Regions from separate parts of the Homo sapiens genome. Here regions 1, 2 and 3 are each linked to region 4. The links are contacts of gene promoters, found by promoter capture Hi-C in human tissues and cell types (Jung and others, 2019). All regions are on one chromosome and are shown on one strand. Each heading gives the region's core, a stretch centred on a gene start or on the middle of the fragment in contact. The rest is flanking DNA. Distances are from core to core; before and after follow the strand shown. Region 1 has its middle 6.7 kb from the start of MIR4752. Region 2 overlaps RPS9 (ribosomal protein S9). Region 3 overlaps MBOAT7 (membrane bound acylglycerophosphatidylinositol O-acyltransferase MBOAT7). Region 4 holds the start of LILRA6 (leukocyte immunoglobulin like receptor A6).

What was found. The method cuts DNA at HindIII sites, captures the fragments that hold promoters and counts their contacts. A contact is called where the count stands out against the background at its distance.
Region 1: a fragment that was not itself captured here is called in contact with the fragment with the promoter of LILRA6 in region 4 in 4 of the 25 tissues and cell types used here (aorta, bladder, pancreas and 1 more).
Region 2: a fragment that was not itself captured here is called in contact with the fragment with the promoter of LILRA6 in region 4 in 5 of the 25 tissues and cell types used here (mesenchymal stem cells, ovary, pancreas and 2 more).
Region 3: a contact is called between a fragment that was not itself captured here and the fragment with the promoter of LILRA6 in region 4, in 1 of the 25 tissues and cell types used here (spleen).

What each region holds. Positions count from the first base shown.
Region 1 is chr19:54,287,450-54,290,254 of GRCh38, forward strand. No RefSeq gene overlaps it. Among named protein-coding and RNA genes, the nearest start is that of MIR4752, 6.7 kb to the left of the region's middle. The HindIII fragment of the contact is 5,378 bases long and covers 1-2,805 here.
Region 2 is chr19:54,205,396-54,208,227 of GRCh38, forward strand. It overlaps RPS9 (ribosomal protein S9), which reads left to right. Exons shown (of 5, transcript NM_001013.4): 4 at 881-1,067; 5 at 2,003-2,252. The coding sequence ends at 2,180. Among named protein-coding and RNA genes, the nearest start is that of RPS9, 6.0 kb to the left of the region's middle. RefSeq lists enhancers at 431-939, 1,447-1,954, 1,955-2,461 and a silencer at 2,557-2,740. The HindIII fragment of the contact is 5,922 bases long and covers 1-2,832 here.
Region 3 is chr19:54,183,226-54,186,212 of GRCh38, forward strand. MBOAT7 (membrane bound acylglycerophosphatidylinositol O-acyltransferase MBOAT7) reads right to left here. Exons shown (of 8, transcript NM_024298.5): 5 at 296-455. Among named protein-coding and RNA genes, the nearest start is that of MBOAT7, 4.9 kb to the right of the region's middle. RefSeq lists an enhancer at 401-900. The HindIII fragment of the contact is 7,969 bases long and covers 1-2,987 here.
Region 4 is chr19:54,241,294-54,244,058 of GRCh38, forward strand. LILRA6 (leukocyte immunoglobulin like receptor A6) reads right to left here and starts at 1,497. Exons shown (of 8, transcript NM_024318.5): 1 at 1,425-1,497; 2 at 1,226-1,261; 3 at 733-1,017; 4 at 283-585. The coding sequence starts at 1,458. It overlaps LOC107987463 (a long non-coding RNA gene), which reads right to left. Exons shown (of 3, transcript XR_007067341.1): 3 at 2,100-2,168. RefSeq lists an enhancer at 2,572-2,765. The HindIII fragment of the contact is 41,097 bases long and covers 1-2,765 here.

The DNA of each region.
Region 1 (2,805 bases), core at 99-2,598, 46 kb after region 4:
GAAAACCTGGAGAAAATAGATGAATTCCTAGACACACACAACTTCCCAAGATTGCACAGGCAAAAAATAGAAACTCTAAACAGACCGATAACAACCAATGAAAAAGGATCAGTACTAAAAATCTTCCAGCAAAAAAGTCCAGGAACAGATGGATTCGCAGTTGAACTTAGCTGTATGTACGAAGGAGGGCTGGTACCAATCATACTGAAAGTATTCCAAAAATCAAGGAAGTGGGATTCTTTGCCAGCTCATTTTACAAAATCAGTATCATCCTGATAGCAAAATCAGACAAGGATCCAACAGAAAAATAAAACTACAGGCCAAGAAATCTGAGGAACACAGATGCAAAAATCCTCAAGAAAATACTAGCAAACGGAATCTAACAGTGTATCAAAAACATAATTCATCATGATCAAGTTGGCTTGATTCCAGGGAAGAAAGGATGGTTCAATATATGCAAGTCAATAAAAGTGACTCATGACATGAACTAAGAACAAAAAGCATATGATCATCTCTATAGATGCAGATAAAGCTTTCAAGAAAGTCCAACATCGCTTCGTGATAAAATCCCTCAACAGGCTAGGCATGAAAGAAACATACCGCAAAATACCAACACCCCCTGCGTGACAAACCCACAGCCAACATCAAATTGAATGGGGAGAAGTGAAAACATTTTCCCAGGAAAATGAGAATGGGATCCTCCCTAGCCCCTGGGGTCTCCTACTGGACCAGGGCCTATCTGTGGGGCAGGGTCCCTCTCATGCTAGAATCTCCCTTTCCCCTCGTCAAATCTCAGTGAAGTGGACCATGGCCATGGGAGTGACAGTCATGGCACAGAGAGGCAGGGCTCTCCTGTAGCAGGACGAGCCGCAGACAAAACTCCTCAGACACCGGATTAAAGAAGGAAGAGGTTTTTATTCAGCTGGGAGCGTGGGCAGACTCGCGTCTTAAGAGCCGAACTCCCCGAAAAAGAAATTCTTGGCCTTTTTAAAGGCTTATAACTTTAAGGGGTCCACGTGAAAGGGTCGTGATACATCAAGCAAGCGTGGGAAACATGACTGTGGGGGGCTATATGCATCAGCTAACAGAACAAAAAGTTTTACAGTGCTTTTTTCATGCAGTGTCTGGAATTTACAGATAACACCAGTAGTTTAGGTCAGGGGTTGATGTTATTATTATTACTTTTTTTAACTCCTACGGCCGGGTGGTGGTGCCAAGGTTGTCTGGCTATTTATCTTACTTTTGTATTTTTCCAACTTTTGGCTTTTTCTCTCTTCCTGTTTTGTGAACTAGGCAAGGTGGGGGGAGGAGGGCAGCAGGAGTAGTAGTGGTCTCCTTCCTTACTCCCACTTACAGGATTTTCCCACCAGCATCTCCATGGGTGGTGAGCTGTCCCGGACCCCGCTGGCTCATGTTTTCCCAGGACTTGGCCTTTCTCGAATGCTTTATCTGCATCGCTTGAGATTATCACATGCTTTTTGTTCTTAGTTTATGTCGTGAGTCACCTTTATTGACTTGCATATATTGAACCATCCTTTGAGACAGGCACCAGGCTTTCTGCTGATATTTCAGACACGCATGGCATCTCTCCTGATCTCCTTTCACTGTCTGCCTGACATGTCCTCGTCTCATTGAGGGCCGGGACGTAGCTGCAAATGGACGTGGTGCCTTCCTGAGTTGGTCCCTTCCAGGTGAAGGCAACGGAGGGTTCTTCCTTCCTCTCAGAGACTCCTCGTGGGGTTTCCCTCTCTCCTTCAGCTCACCCATAAACACACCCTTGTGGGGAACCTACCATGGCCAGTCTTCTCACCAGTCCTGGGGAAGCTTCAGGGAAGATGCAAATTCAGGCTGCGGGGCAGACTCACATCAGCAGAGACTCATCTCGCATCTTGCTGTGCAGTTCCAGTTGAGCTTTATTGTGGCGATGAACAGAAAAGGGAAATACATGGAGACAAGGGAAGGAATCATGACTCTTTCCCCAGAACTGGAGTGTGGGTTTTCTTTATGCAAAAACGTTCCCTTCACGAACTTCTCATTCACTCATCGCAACAGCATCTGCCCCCGTCTCCCTGGAAACAACATTGACCTGACTCTGCCTTCTTGGTGCCCCTGTCTTCTTTCAAACACTCCTGTTCCCATCCTGTGCTCCTGAGTTCAAGGTTCTGGGACAATACGTGGGGTTAGCACTCTGCTTTGAGGGGAAATCTTGTCTTTATTTAAATATTCATGTGTCACCCCCTGCCTGTGTGACCTTGGGCAGTAACCTCCCATTTCTGAGCCTCGGTTTCCTCATTTGGAGCCTGTGATGAACCCCATTTATCACAGGGGAGCTGGGTCATTGGAGCCTGGGGACTGCAGGGGGCTCAGCCATGGGTAATTTCCAGAGCAGGTGAAGACAGGAGGGGTGGGGGCATGAAGGGATGCTGGCGCCCACCATCAAGGCCTGAGATTGATGTTTCCACTAAGGAGAGCCCCTTTGTTCCTGCCCTTGAGAGATGCTTCTCATAATATTTCATCAACACCCCCGTTATCACAGTCATGTCCAGAAAATGAGAAATGAAAGCTTGTCAGAAGGAGAAGCGCCTGCATTAAAGAGAAAATTAAAACTGACAGAGCATTTGTGTCTGGTGCCATTGGGGTCTTCAGGGAGGAAGTAATTAAGTCACTAGTGTGCATACATTTAAGCATGAAATGCAAATCTTTTTTTTTTTTTTTTCGAGACAGAGTCTCACTCTGTCGCCCAGGCTGGAGTGCAGTGGCACAATCTCAGCTCACCGCAACCTCCACCTCCCGCGTTCAAACGAT
Region 2 (2,832 bases), core at 288-2,787, 36 kb before region 4:
ATACATACTAGATATATTTTTGGTGGAAAATTTTGTACAGAATAGTAAAATGAATGACATGTACCTAGCTGGAAAAATTCTAGTGTTAGAAATTACTTTTCTCTCCTTAAAAGATGTAGATACTGCTATTTATGGCACGGAATGTGATTCAATCTCACATCTGCTTAATCAGAAGAGCTGTCTGGGCTGAGGATATGAACTCTTCAGCACTGTGCTTTGTTACGGTGGTAGTAGCTTAATAGCAGCTGCATTTGGTCTTTTGCAGACTGAGTCCTTGTAAGGAGGTGATTTCCTTTACTCTTGCTAAGAATGTGGAGCGAGGGATGTATGCTCTCAGATGAGGAGGCAGGTGTATTTTGCCCTCCTGTCATCTGCAGTTTACTATGAATGATGACCTGACAACCATAGGGTAGTTTGGTTTTTTGTATTGTTTTGTTTTGTGACAGGGCCTCACTCTGTCGCCCAGGCTGGAGTGCAGTGGCCCCATCTCAGGTCACTGCAACCTCCGCCTCCTGGGTTCAAGCAGTTTTCCTTCCTCAGCCTCCTGAATAGCTGGGATTACAGGCAGTGCGCCAACGGCCTGGCTAATTTTTCGTAATCTTAGTGGAGACGGGCTTTCGCCATGTTGGCCGGGCTGGTCTCTCAAACTCCTGACCTCAAGTGATCCGTCTCGGACTCCCAAAGTGCTGGGATTACAGGTGTGAGCCACCACTCCCAGCCCGTAGGGTGGTTTTGACAGTGACATGGGTCACGGTGATGGCGCTGTACTACTTGTGCCTCACCGCCGCGGCATGGAGCTACCAAGAGGCGGAGCCAGGATTTGAACCCAAGAAGCCTGAGGTCAGAAGGCGGAATCAGTGTTTCCTCCCACTCTTCCCAGGCAACGCCCTGCTGCGGCGGCTGGTCCGCATTGGGGTGCTGGATGAGGGCAAGATGAAGCTGGATTACATCCTGGGCCTGAAGATAGAGGATTTCTTAGAGAGACGCCTGCAGACCCAGGTCTTCAAGCTGGGCTTGGCCAAGTCCATCCACCACGCTCGCGTGCTGATCCGCCAGCGCCATATCAGGTACCACCTCGGATGGGCACCTGAATCTTCCTCCACCTGCCCCTCTGATGGTTGCCCTCACTAAGCCTGCTGTCCCTATCTCCTATGCAGCCCTCGGAGGTGATGGGTGTGAACTCACCCAGAGGGTACAGATTCACCCTTGCACACAGCTCACCAGGGAGCTGGGGCAGCCTCTTGCCCCAATAGCCCAGCGCAAGGGTCACTGCGGCTCTAGCCGTACACCTTGTGAAGGCCTCTGCCAGGCATGTGGGCAGCTGGACAGGTAACAGCTCTTGGTGTCCCCAGTGGAGGGAGAGAACCAGCCTCACCTCGCTTGGGTGGTGGGTTCAGCTGTCTCCTGGCCCGCTTGTGAAGTTGATTCCAGACCCCGATCCATGACTGCGTTCTGGGTACTCAGTGTGCCCTTTCTGTAATGTGGCACCATTGAGGGGGAGGAGCTGTACAGAAAGAGGGCAAGATGTTTGCGTTTAGAATCTTCGCCCCAGCCCTTCACTAACCCTGTGAGCCGTAGGCAGAGCCTTGTGTGTCAATGCTTTCGTCGGAGACGTAGCCTCGGGTTGCTGTGTTATTGTGGGCATTGCTGCTGCACGTGGTAATACAGCTCAGTGTCAGGTGTGGGGTTCACGATATTTCAGACTCGGAACTTGGGGGCTCTCACATGGCCATCTCATTTGCTTTGTGGTCTTAGGTGGGATACTTTCGGATTTCTCCTATAAAATGGGGTTGAGAAAGTCATCTGAAGCATTTTTGGGGATTAAGGTGATACCCTAAAACCCCGGAGGGCGCACGTAGGATCAGGTGCACCCTTCCTGCAGCGCCTTGGTGTCTGCAGCCGTGGCGGCCTCACGGGGTGGGTGGAGAGGAAAGAGTGGTGCGGTAGCTGGGGTTAGCGTCCGTTTCTCCTCCAGTCCACCTCACCTTGTCGCTGCTTCCAGGGTCCGCAAGCAGGTGGTGAACATCCCGTCCTTCATTGTCCGCCTGGATTCCCAGAAGCACATCGACTTCTCTCTGCGCTCTCCCTACGGGGGTGGCCGCCCGGGCCGCGTGAAGAGGAAGAATGCCAAGAAGGGCCAGGGTGGGGCTGGGGCTGGAGACGACGAGGAGGAGGATTAAGTCCACCTGTCCCTCCTGGGCTGCTGGATTGTCTCGTTTTCCTGCCAAATAAACAGGATCAGCGCTTTACAATTGGTGTGTGGGGGTCTCTCATCCTTGACTCTTTCCCCTGCTCTAAACATGCAGCCTTCCCTGGGAGGCTCACTCACTTGGGAGTGCCTACCAGCTAGTGGTCCCTGGCCTCTCAGTACTATTCTACAGTAGTGAACACACATCTTTACCAGAAACTTCTGTCATCAGGGGAGAGACGAGTGGTATTTTTGGAAAAACTGTGTCAAAACCAGAAGGAAATTCCAAGTAAGCCGGTGTTTGCATATAGGGGTGGGAGGGAGCCGGTCATTGCTAGGCAGGGCAGGCGCCGAGTGGAGGTGGGGGCCTTCCCTGCCTGCTGGCCCTGGGACCCTGACCCCGCCAGGCAAGAGACAGGTGGGACGGGAGCTGACCAGAGGCTGACGGGTTGCTGGGGAAGGTGAACTGTTGGTGATTGTTGGGGAACACTTCACAGAATTTGCTTGCTAGTTTCAAAGCTTGTGATGCAGTTGATGTTGGGCAAGTTCCCAGTTTTGTCTTCACATGTAGGGGAAGTGGGTTAGCGTAGGAGAAGGGGCGTTGAGGGAAGTCTGTTCCTCCTCTCCGCGTTCAGTGCTTCTGT
Region 3 (2,987 bases), core at 139-2,638, 58 kb before region 4:
GCAAAAACATCAGGTTGACATAGATCTTTACCTCCTTTATCTCTTCTCTTTGCTCCCAATACGCTACAAGGAGAAGAGCAAGGAATTGCTTAGGTTGAGACAGCCAGCTTCTACCCCAAAGCAGCTCTGGTCCAGCGGAGGTGTGAGACGTAGACCCAGACACATGCCCACCCTCACAGCAGCAGATGCTAGGATGGAGGTTGCCCTGGGCAGGGCGGGAACACAGAACAGGCACTCAGGGCGGAAGGGGACACAGGAGACAGAGCGGCAGAGTTGTTAGGGCAGCCCCACTCACCTGTCATGATTCCCACGTAGCAGTAGCTGTAGCTGAGTGTCTCCATCAGGGAGGGCACGTCGGGCAGCAGCCCCAGGGTGGGCCCCTTGCTGAAGCCTGAGGCCATTTCCTTCCTCTGGGCCAGATGCAGGTCCTGGACTTCACTGGCCAGGCTCACCAGCTGGGCAGAAGGGGGTGGGCAAGGGGCCAGGTCAGACTCTGGGCCCTTCCCCACACCCATCTCCCTTGCGCGGCTGCCCTCGGCAGCCAAGGGGTGCTGGGTGCCCGCAGCTCTGCCCATCTAGGTTGTGTGTAACGCCTCTAGCTGGGCGGTGTTCCCCAGGGCTCAGTCCCAGGCCCTCCTCCCCTTTCCCTGTTCTGTGCTTACCTGCTCTCACGCAATCACGGAGGTTTCGATACTATCCACACGCTGAGGACGCCCAAACGCTACCCCAGCCCCAGACCTATCCAATCAAGTGGCTTATTGGCATTTATACTCGGATGTCTCCAGGCACCCCAAACGCACTGGAAACGGAACATGATGTTACCCACCCCACAAGGTAGACCCTCTTCTAGTGTCACCCCTCAAACAACAGGCCACCAAATTGTTCAAGCCAAAAATCTCCCTCACTCCCCAAATCCGATCCTTTAATCTCTCTCTCTTTTTTTTTTTTTTTTTTTTTGAGACAAGTTTTGCTCTGTCACCAGGCTGGAGTATACTGGTGTGATCTCGGCTCACTGCAACCCCCACCTCCTGGGGGCGCAAGCAATTCTCATGCCTCAGCTGGCCAGGCTGGTCTCGAACTCCTGGCCTCAAGTGATCTGCCCGCCTTGAAATCCCTTAAGTTTGAGTCTGTTGCCTCTTTCCATCTCCACTACTGAGCTGAATATGTTGTACTCTCCACCCTTTCCCACCAGTCCCAAGGTCCACCCTATATCAATAGATCTCCTTCTTCCAGCTTGTGGCTGGGTTGTCAGTAGAAATCCCTGGCTGGAGACAAAGTCAGGAGAGGGAGGGTAGGGCTTTTATTCCCTTGTAAGATGGCCTTGGGCTGGCTGTCACCCTTGATAGATCATTTCAAGGTGGGTGGCTCTACACACCCTTTAAAAAAAATAATTTTGGCCGGGCGCGGTGGCTCACGCCTGTAATCCCAGCACTTTGGGAGGCCGAGGCAGGCGGATCACCTGAGGTCGGGAGTTCGAGATCAGCCTGACCAACATGGAAAAACCCTGTCTCTACTAAAAATACAAAAAATTAGCCGGGCATGGTGGTGAGTGCCTGTAATTCCAGCTACTCAGGAGGCTGAGGCAGGAGAATCGCTTGAACCTGGGAGGCGGAGGTTGCGGTAAGCCAAGATCGTACCATTGCACTCCAGCCTGGGCAACAGGAGTGAAACTCCGTCTCAAAAAAAAAAAAAAAAAATTTAGGGCCAGGTGTGACGGCTCACACCTATAACACTAGCACTTTGGTTGGCCTAGGCAGGCAGATCACTTGATGTCAGGGGTTTGAGACCAGCCCGGCCAACATGGTGAAACCCCATCTCTACTAAAAATATAAAAATTAGCAAGGCGTGGTGGTGGGCGCCTGTAGTCCCAGCTACTCGAGAGGCTGAGGCAGGAGAATCGCTCGAACCCGAGAGGCAGAGGTTGCAGTGAGATCACACCACTGCACTCCAGCCTGGGCAACAGAGCGAGACTCCATCTTTAAAAATAAATAACATTTAAAAAATTAATTTTTTGTAGAGACAGGGTCTCACTATATTGCCCAGGCTGGTCTTAAACTCCTGGCCTCCAGCAGTCCTCCCACTATGACCTCCCAAAGCGCTGGGATTATACAAGTATGAGCCACTGCACCAGGCCTACACAACCCTTTTTCCATCCAGGTACCACAACCTGACCCATTTCCCCTGGGCCTAGGGTTGGGAACGGCTCCTTCTGCCGGGCTGGGGTTCAGGCACCATCCCTTCTTGCTCTTCTACATCCTGCCCAATTGGTGGCCACTCCTTCAGTCATCCTAAATGCGCGTTTCCTGCTGCAACTCAGACCTACCCACAGCCAGCCAACGGCCTGTATCAAGCCACCACAGTTTGTCACCTGGACTCGGACAAAGGAGGATCCCTTTATCTGAGTCCATCCCATCTTGCCCTGTTCCACTTCAATTCTCCTTCAGCATCCAGAACGAGTTTTCTTTCTTTTCTTTTCTTTTTTTTTTGAGATGGAATCTTGCCCGGGAAGGCCCAGGCTGGAGTGCAATGGCGGGATCTTGGCTCACTGCAACCTCCACCTTCCAGGTTCAAGCAATTATCCTGCCTCAGCCTCCTGAGTAGCTGGGATTACAGGTGTGAGCCACCACACCCGGCTCATTTTTGTATTTTTAGTAGAGACGGAGTTTTACCATGTTGGCCAGGATGGTCTCAAACTCCTAACCTCAGGTGATCTACCCGCGTCAGCCTCCCAAAGTGCTGGGATTACAGGCGTGAGCCACCCGCAGCTGGCCTAGAATGAGTATTTCTATTTGTTTATTTATTTTTGAGATGGAGTTTTGCTCTTGTTGCCCAGGCTGGAGTGCAATGGTACGATCTCAGCTCACCACAACCTCCGCCTCCTGGGTTCAAGCAATTCTCCTGCCTCAGCCTCCCGAGTAGCTGGGATTACAGGTATGTGCCACCACGCCCAGCTAATCTTTTGTATTTTTAGTAGAGACAGGGTTTCT
Region 4 (2,765 bases), core at 247-2,746:
CTCCCTAGCCCTGGCCACTGTGCCTGATCTTTCCTCCTCTCCCTGAGAGCTGGGACCTCACAGCAAACACACCGATGCCTTCCTGAGTCCTCCCCGTTCAGGTGAGCGTGGCTGAGGGCTCCTCCTCCCATGTCAGAGCCTCCCCATGGGGTCTCCCTCATGCCTTCAGCCCGTCCTTCAACACATCACTCTGGGTCCTTTCCAGATTCAGTCACCAGCCAAACTCCCCACAACCTGTCAGCTGCCCCGAAAGTGTGTTAGACAAGGCCGTGGCTCCCTCACCTGAGGGCAGAATCTCCAGGGGGTCACTGGGGTGGGACCACACCCGGGGGGTGTTCATATAATAGTAATAGCATGTGAACCTCCACCTGTGGCTGGGGTTCACGGGGCCCACAGGGAACAGGGCCTGGAACCCCCCACTGTGGAGCTGCTGTGAGTCCAGGGTCCGGGGGAGCTGGTGTTCTCCTTCCTTCATCAGAACAAAATGGTGATATCCCTTCTGTGAGCCACATTGGAGGGTCATATTCCCCCCTGAGGCCACCACAGGGCTGGGCAGGGCTGAGAGGGTGGGTTTGCTATAGGCTCCTAGGAGAGAAAGAGGCACCATGTTAAATGGGGCTCCCACCTCCCACATCATCCCCAGGGCTGGGCTGTGAGAGGGAGACACCCCTGAGAGCCGACCCCCTTCCTGAGGGCAGAGCCTGGGGCTGGGACCCCAGAGTGTCCTCTCACCTGTCATCACCAGCTCCAGGGGGTCGCTGGGCTCTGACCAGCCTGCAGAGCTGTAATAGTGGCAGCGGTATCTCCCCGCATGGTGCTCTGTTATGGATGGGATGGAGAATCTGGCCTTGTTCTTGGGTTCCAGTGGGTTATTTCTGTCCCAGGGCTCTGGGCTTCCCTCTTTATCCAGTCGGTACTCCTGGGCCTCCAGGCTCCCCTGACACCAGATGGTCACGGGGCTCCCCCAGCTGATCACAGAGCCTGGCTCAGCCCAGAGGGTGGGTTTGGGGAAGGGCCCTAGATGGAAATCAGAGGCTGGATCCCAAGACATCCCCACGCTCAGATCCCAGCTCCCAGCCCCAGGACTTCCTCATCATCCCCATCAGTCACCCAGAACTACTGTCTCCTCCCCACCCAGAACTGCTGTCTCCTCCCCCAGCTGCCCATGTGTGGCCCTTGTCCCTAGTAAGGATGAGGGACCTGGGACAGCTGGGGACAGACTCACCTGCCTGCACGTGGGTCCTGGGGCCCAGACTCAGCCCTGGAAGAGAATTCCCTGTGAGGCATTTGCCCTGAAGCCTGAGCAGGTCCTCCCCGCCCTGGTGCCTCCTGAGCTTTTGAGGTCTCCTGATGGACCAGGGCTTGTGTGTGGGGTGGGGTTCCTCCAAGACTCAGATCTCCCCCTCCCCATCTTGAAATCTCACCTAGGCAGAGCAGGGCTGCGAGGGTGGGGGTCATGGCGTCTCCTCCTGGTGACCCCGGGCTCTGCAGAGGGATGAGCCCTCAGTGCTGGCAGGACAGAGAGACACACAGGGTGTGGCCGCTCGGAGGCTGGGTCCTTCTTGTCATGGGGTTGTCTCATCCTCAGCCCACAGGAAGAGGAACTGCCACCCCAGGAACCTGGCTCTGATTTCCCCAGGGCTGAAGTGGGGGCAGGCACCAGGCTCTCTGCAGGCATTTCAGAGAGAAATGGGGTCTCCCTGCCCCCGGGCCACTGTCTGCCTGATTTATCTTTATCTCACTGAGAGCTAGGACACAGCAGCAAATAGAACCAGTGCCTTCTGGAGTCAGCCCCTTTGAGGCGAGGGTGACTGTGGGCTCATCCTCCCTCTCAGAGCCTCCCCATGGGGTCTCCCTCCCTCCTTCAGCCCGTCCATCAGCTCAGCGTTACGGGGTCCTTACCATGGCAGTCGTCTCTCCAGCCCTGGAGATGCTTCAGGGAAGACCCAGGTCCATGCTGCAGGCAGACTCAGATCAGCAGAGACGCACCTGACACCTGGCTGTGTAGTCCAGGCTGAGCTGCGTGTAGCAGTGAGCACAGAGGAGAAATGCAGCGTCTACCGTGGTGGCTCATGCCTGGAATCCCAGCACTTCAGGAGGCTGTGGCGGGTGATGGCTTGAGGCCAGGAGCTTCAGACAGTCCTGGGAAACAGACTGTGACCCTGTTTCTACAGAAAAGAAAAAAGTGAGCTGGGCATGGAGGCTCATGCCTGTGGTCCCAGCTACTCAGGAGGCTGAGGTGGGAGGACCACCTGGGCCCGGGAGGCGGAGGCTGCAGGGAGATATGATCACCCCTTGGCCTTCCAGCCTGGGCGACAGCGCAGGATCCTGTCTGAAAAGGAGAAATAGAGGGGATAAAGAGAAATATATATATATATATATATATGTTTCATTGTAATCTATAATCTGATTCTGGGGAAGGTGAGCTGATTTGTATTTAATTCCTGATTATCATCTAGGGTTTATGAGACTTTGGACATGAATGTCACCTCTGAGCCTGCTGTCGTGAACCCCACTCATCACAGTGGCTGTGGGGGTCAGTGGTGCCCAGGACATGGGAGGCTCAGCCATGGTGAATTTCCAGACCAGTTCAGACAGGAGGGTGGGGACGGGAGAGGATCCTGGTGCTGGGCTCCACAGTTGAGGAGGATGATTGACGCCCCCATTCAAGAGCCCACATTGGCTCCAAATACCATGAAATTCTTGTGATACGTCTGAAATATGCAGATCATCACAGCCACAGGCCGAGAAAGAGGAAGAACAGT